2 separate regions of the Homo sapiens genome follow, and region 2 is linked to region 1. The links are contacts of gene promoters, found by promoter capture Hi-C in human tissues and cell types (Jung and others, 2019). All regions are on one chromosome and are shown on one strand. Each heading gives the region's core, a stretch centred on a gene start or on the middle of the fragment in contact. The rest is flanking DNA. Distances are from core to core; before and after follow the strand shown.

The links. Contacts are between HindIII fragments. The study calls those that stand out against the background at their distance.
Region 2: a contact is called between a fragment that was not itself captured here and the fragment with the promoter of ZNF248 in region 1, in 2 of the 25 tissues and cell types used here (mesenchymal stem cells and mesendoderm cells).

The regions. Positions count from the first base shown.
Region 1 is chr10:37,856,057-37,859,066 of GRCh38, reverse strand. ZNF248 (zinc finger protein 248) reads left to right here and starts at 1,457. Exons shown (of 6, transcript NM_021045.3): 1 at 1,457-1,882; 2 at 2,535-2,632; 3 at 2,730-2,771. The coding sequence starts at 2,757. It overlaps ZNF248-AS1 (ZNF248 antisense RNA 1), which reads right to left and starts at 1,318. Exons shown (of 2, transcript NR_186559.1): 1 at 566-1,318. RefSeq lists silencers at 965-1,514, 1,211-1,587 and an enhancer at 1,905-1,964. The HindIII fragment of the contact is 12,949 bases long and covers 1-3,010 here.
Region 2 is chr10:37,894,380-37,897,389 of GRCh38, reverse strand. It overlaps the pseudogene ZNF33CP. Among named protein-coding and RNA genes, the nearest start is that of ZNF248-AS1, 38 kb to the right of the region's middle. RefSeq lists an enhancer at 1-167. The HindIII fragment of the contact is 3,993 bases long and covers 1-3,010 here.

The DNA.
Region 1 (3,010 bases), core at 208-2,707:
AAAGGGCATTAGTGGAAGAACTGCTTAAGTCTGAATAAACTCTGCAGTTCAGTTAATAGTACTTGTACCTATGTTATTTTCTTAGTTTTGATAAATATACCATGGTCATGTAAAATACTAACACTAGTGGAATCTGGGTGAAAGGCATATAGGAACTATTTTGCAACTCTTCTGTAAATCTGAAATTATGAGCAAATGAAAAGTTTAAAAAAGTGGACAATGACCCAGGAGTTGATTTTTTAAATGAAAAGTTGTAACACACGCACATGCTCATAGTGTGCTGAAAATGCCAGATGTGCACGTAAAAGAATGTACGTGTAGTGTAGTTCTGGGTAAAGTATGGTTGGTTTTGGGAAATGAGTGCGTGCTTTCTTCTTCAAATTTGTTACTCAAACGGCTTTTTTTTTTTTAAACATATAAACAATTTTATGTTTGGGTCTTGAATTGCTAGCTTCTGTTTTTCCTTATTCCAGAGAATAACCATACTGGTCACAGATTTTAGTTTTCTCTTCCAGTCTTTCAGTTAAACGTTACCATGCATGATCGTGAATGAATTCAAGCACACCTTTCCTTCTCTTGGCTTGTGTCTAACAGGCACATTGATTTGATCCACAACCTCTGGGGACACTGACAGAATCCTGGTTCCAAGCAGGAGTGGGTAACTGAGACAGTAATCTCTCAACCCACTATACAAGGCTGTTTTGCAGGAGAGCCTTATGATGACCAGCATGATATATAATTGTGAGAAATATACTGAACAATTTATGTGTCAGACACCGGTTTAAATGCTTTTACAACGTAAGCGCCTCCAATTCTCATAAAACCCCTGCTAGGTAGGCACTATCAGCCTCATTTTACAACTGAGGGTTGCGGCCAGAGCTGACAGGCACCGTCTAGCGCCGCTTCCAAGCCCCGCATCGCATCCACCAGCCTAACTCGGGCGCTCGGCCTCTCCCTCTGCGCATGTGCATCCCCGCCTCCCGCTCCAGGCGAGTCCTTCCCTGGACTCCAGTCCCTTGTGGGAAACAATCCCTCGCCTCCGGAGGCGGCGAGGAGCGGCGGGTGAGCCCCGGAGCACTGGGCGAGGGCCAGGGGGTCCCCGCGCTGCCCTGAAGGCGGGCGGGCGGCGGCTAGACCTCGGCGGTGGGGAGGGACCCCTGGCGCCTGCGGCGACGGTGGGACGAGGGCGTCTCTGTCAGAAGGGGATGAGGTCTGGCGTGGGAACGCGAGTTCCGGGGCTCCCGGGGGTCCGTATGCGTCCAGTCCCTGCGCCTGGCGCTCAGCGAAGTCCTGTAGCACGGGGTAGGCAATGCGCACTGGCCCGAAGGGGAGGGAACTGGCTGCGGGGAGGGGACAGCACGCGCGTGCGTAGCGTGTGACGTTTGTTGTGCGCGTGCGCATGGCGTTTGATGTGTGCGTGTGCGCTTTTTGTGCCCTGAGCCCGCGGGGAGGAGGCGGGGCTGCGGGGGAGAGCGACTGCGCCAGGTCCGCGACAAATGAATTAGACACAATTATCCACGGGAGACTCGGTTTTCCTCTCTGTAAATTACGGATATTAGGAATACTTGCCGCCTGGGGTTGTTTTGAGCACTTTCATTGTTTAGGTGCTGTATTTATTGGGTGTGCGTTCCCTGGGAGAGCCCGAGGGAGACGGCTCCTGCACCGGCCCCAAGGGCCTCTCTGCCCGTGGAGTGCAGGAGCGAAGGGGCTGGCCTAGCTGACCACCAGGGCCCCTGCTGGCTCTGACCGCCCTCCTATCCCAAGTAATTATTTACACGTTTCGCGTTCGCTTATGTATTATGTGTAATCATGGCACAGTATCCTGAAGCCGTCGGAGTCTGTGTGCTGGTGCAAGGTCTGGGACAAATTTAAGAAGAGAGAGGTGAGCTGGAGCTGAGGGGTGGGCGCGCAGGCTAACAGGAACGTCACCTCTGGAGAGTCTGAGGGCAGGGACGGGTGAAAGGCTCACGGCCACAGCGAAAGAAATGCTGTTATCACCCCTCCGCGAACACCGGGCACATCCAGATGAGCTGCTGAGCTTCCTCCTCTCTTGGCCTGATATCCCCGCCGGATGGTAGTGCAGTCAGGTCATACTTGGGTTATCTGTTTTGACCTTATTTGAAAGATGGAAAAACAAAATTGAGTTTGAGGAGGTGAGTAGTTCAGATCTTGTCATTCCTTAGAGGCAGAACTGAGATTAGAAGTCAAGTCTGCAGTTTCCCGAGCCACTGCTGCCCATTTTGTTACTCTATATCACAGTTTCTCATTAAAAGATCCTTTTGAGGAATTGTTAGCAAGTTAGAACAAACATTTTTAAACTTGCATTTAACATCCTATCCCTTTTTTTAGAGGTCTTTTGCATTATCTAACCTCAGGGCATTAATGGTGTTAACAGGTAAACAGATAAACAATATGGCCTCAGTTTTTTTTTTTCCCTACAAGGAATTTTGACAAACCCATAGTGTTTTTTCCTTCAGATTACTGTTAACTTGTTAAACTCATCTTTTCATGTTTTTAATTTTTCTGTGTCACAGAACCTAAATTGGTAATAAATCAATAAGAAATATTTACATTCACTCAGTGAAAAGTGTCATGTCTGAGCTCAGCATATATCGGAGCCACACATGGACACGTAAGTATCTTGTGTGTGGACCTGTATAGGCAGGTGAATCTCCGAACTGCAAGGCCGGCGAAGGCTCTCCTGACATTCTTCCTTTCTAATCCTTCAGCTCTCCTTCCTCCACTAAGAGCGGAAAATGAACAAATCCCAGGTGAGATTCTTGTTTCTTTATTCCCAGTTTGTTTAAAAATGGATTTCTGAAGTTTATAAGGGTTTATGTTTTGAAAATGGAAAAATAGAAATAGGCAAAAATTGACATTAAGGGAAATAAAACTGAAGTAGCAAATCCAAAATAGTGCAGTTGGCAAATTAGATGCAGGATTTTTAATTTTGCAGAATTATCCAAGTTATTGTAATATTATCTCTAATTGTTCTAGTAACAATTCTGAA
Region 2 (3,010 bases), core at 361-2,860, 38 kb before region 1:
GTCTTGCAGTTTGATCTCAGACTGCTGTGCTAGCAATCAGCGAGACTCCGTGGGCCCAGGACCCTCCGAGCCATGTGCGGGATATAATCTCGTGGTGCGCCGTTTTTTAAGCCCGTCGGAAAAGCGCAGTATTCGGGTGGGAGTGACCCGATTTTCCAGGTGCCGTCCATCACCCCTTTCTTTGACTCAGAAAGGGAACTCCCTGACCCCTTGCGCTTCCCAAGTGAGGCAATGCCTCGCCCTGCTTCGGCTCGCGCACAGTGCACGCACCCACTGACCTGCGCCCACTGTCTGGCACTCCCTAGTGAGATGAACCCGGTACCTCAGATGGAAATGCAGAAATCACCCGTCTTCTGCGTCGCTCACCCTGGGAGCTGTAGACCGGAGCTGTTCCTATTTGGCCATCTTGGCTCCTCCCCGTCTATTCTCTTATTTACTTTGGAAGATGACTTATGGTAAAAGGTTTGCCAAATTCTTTACATTCACAGGGGTCATGTCCTATTTGATTTCTCCTACGTATTTTCAGGTATGAATTGCTTGAGAAAGATTTCTCTCATTTCTACATTTATAAGCTTTTTCCCATGTGTATCCTTGGATGTGCTATGAGACTTGATTTCTCAGAGGGTTTCCCACACTGGTTACATTCATAGGGTTTCTCCCTTGTACTTCTCTGATGTACTTTGAGGCCTGAGCTGCAACTGAAGCTTTTCCCACACTGATTACATTCATAGGGTTTCTCTACTGTATGTGTTCTCTAATGTTTAGTGAGATCTGACTTATGATAGAAGGACTTCCCTCATTCATTACATTTATAAGGTTTTTCCCCTGTGTGTATTCTCTGATGTACAGTAAGGACTGATTTCTCAGAGAAGGACTTCCCACACTCATTACATCCATAGGGCTTCTCCCCTGTGTGTGTTCTCTGATGTGATTTGAGGACTGAGTTGCAAATAAAGGTTTTCCCACATTTATTACAGTAATAAGATTTCTCCCCTCTGTGTGTTCTCTTATGTACTGTATAGTCTGCCTTATGGTAGAAGGTTTTCCCACATTTTTTACACACATAGGGTTTGTCTCCTGTATGCATTCTCTGGTGTATTGTAAGGTATGAATTCCTAGAGAAGAATTTCCCACATTCCTTACATTCACAGGGCTTCTCACCTGTGTGTGTTCTCTGATGTTTGGTTAGGTCTGATTTATTGTAGAAGGTTTTTCCACGTGCATTACATTTATAAGGTTTTTCCCCTGTGTGTATTCTCTGATGTACTGTGAGGACTGATTTCTCAGAGAAGGATTTCCCACACTCAGTATATTCATAGGGTTTCTCCTTTGCATGTGTTCTCTGATGTACTTTTAGGCCTGAGTTACGACTAAAAGTTTTCCCACATTGAGTACATTCATAGGGTTTTCCCCCTAGGTGAGTCTTCTGATGTTTAGTGGCATCAGACTTGTGGCAAAAGGTTTTGCTACATACCTTACATTCATAGGGTTTCTCGCCTGGGTGAGTTCTCTGATGTATTGTAAGATATGAACTCCTAGAGAAAGATTTCCCACATTCATTACATTCATAGGGTTTCTCACCTGTATATGTTTTACGATGTATTGTGAGAACAGAGTTGCTTATGAAGGTTTTTCCACATTGATTACATTCATAGGGTTTCTCCCCTGTGTGAATTCTCTGATGTACTGTAAGATATGACTTATGATAGAAGCTTTTTCTACATTCCTTGCATTCACAGGGTTGCTCTCCTGTGTGAGTTCTCTGATGTATTATGAGGTGTGAATTCCTAGAAAAGCATTTCCCACATTCCTTACATAGGGTTTCTCTCCTGTGTGGACTCTCTGATGTAGAGTGAGGAGAGATTTCCTAGAAAAGCATTTTTCACATTTATTACATTCATAGGGTTTCTCCCCTGTATGGATTCTTTGATGTTTGGTTAGCTTTGACTTTTCATAGAATGGTTTTACACATGGCTCACATCCACAGACTTCCTCTCCTCTGTGTGTTCTCTGAGTTACATTAAGTACTGACTTCTCGCACAAAGCTTCCCCTGATTTGTTACTTTCAAATATTTTCTCTCTTGTGTTAGGAAAGCTTGATCTGTTAAAATTCCTACACTTTCAATATGTTTATAGTGTTTCACCTCCAAATGAACTTTATGTTTCAAGAAAGGGGACTTCTCAAAGGTTTTTTCATATTCATTAAACTCATAAAAGTTTTCTCTTTTTTCTGACATTTTATGGACCATGAGAGTTGAATTATTACAGAACACTTTATTACATTCATTGTGTACACAAGGACTCGCTCCTGTGTAAGCTTGCTTATATGTAATGAAAACTGCCTTTCCATAGAAATCCTTTTCACATTCCTTATATTCAAAAGATTGCTCTAAATTTTGAATTCTCAGATATGAAATGAAGTCCTCCTTATGACTGAGACATTTTCCATTTTGAATAAACTCATAAGGTTTCTCTTCCATATGAGTTTTTTCATGGTTACTATTGAGGAATAGTTTTCCATATGCACTGAGGTCATGAGGCATCTTTCTTAAATAGTTTTTCTTACTATTAAATAAATCTGAAATGTATTGCAAACTCATACCACATAAGTCACATTTACAAGGTATTTTTATGGAAGGAAGTTGGTGTATGCTGAAATCAAACACTTTTCCTACTATGTTACCTCTCTCTATAGTCAGTGTTCTATTGTTGATATATGGAGCTTGCCAGATATGTCTGTCCTGGATTTCCTGACAGTGCTCTAGTTGATCATCCACTTTGCAGACTTCTAGAAATAAGAAAAAATAACCACAACTTATGAGTCTTGTGATATTTGTGATGAAATTACACTTACATACATACGCGCTTTTATATGTAGTTGACTTAGTTTCCTGGAATAAAGTAATCCAAAAAGTGTTAATCTCCTCCAGCCCTTTGGCTAGAAGAAAATAAACATGAAACCTTATAATGTGGAAAGTAGGGTGGAAATTTAGAACACACAATGGGCAAT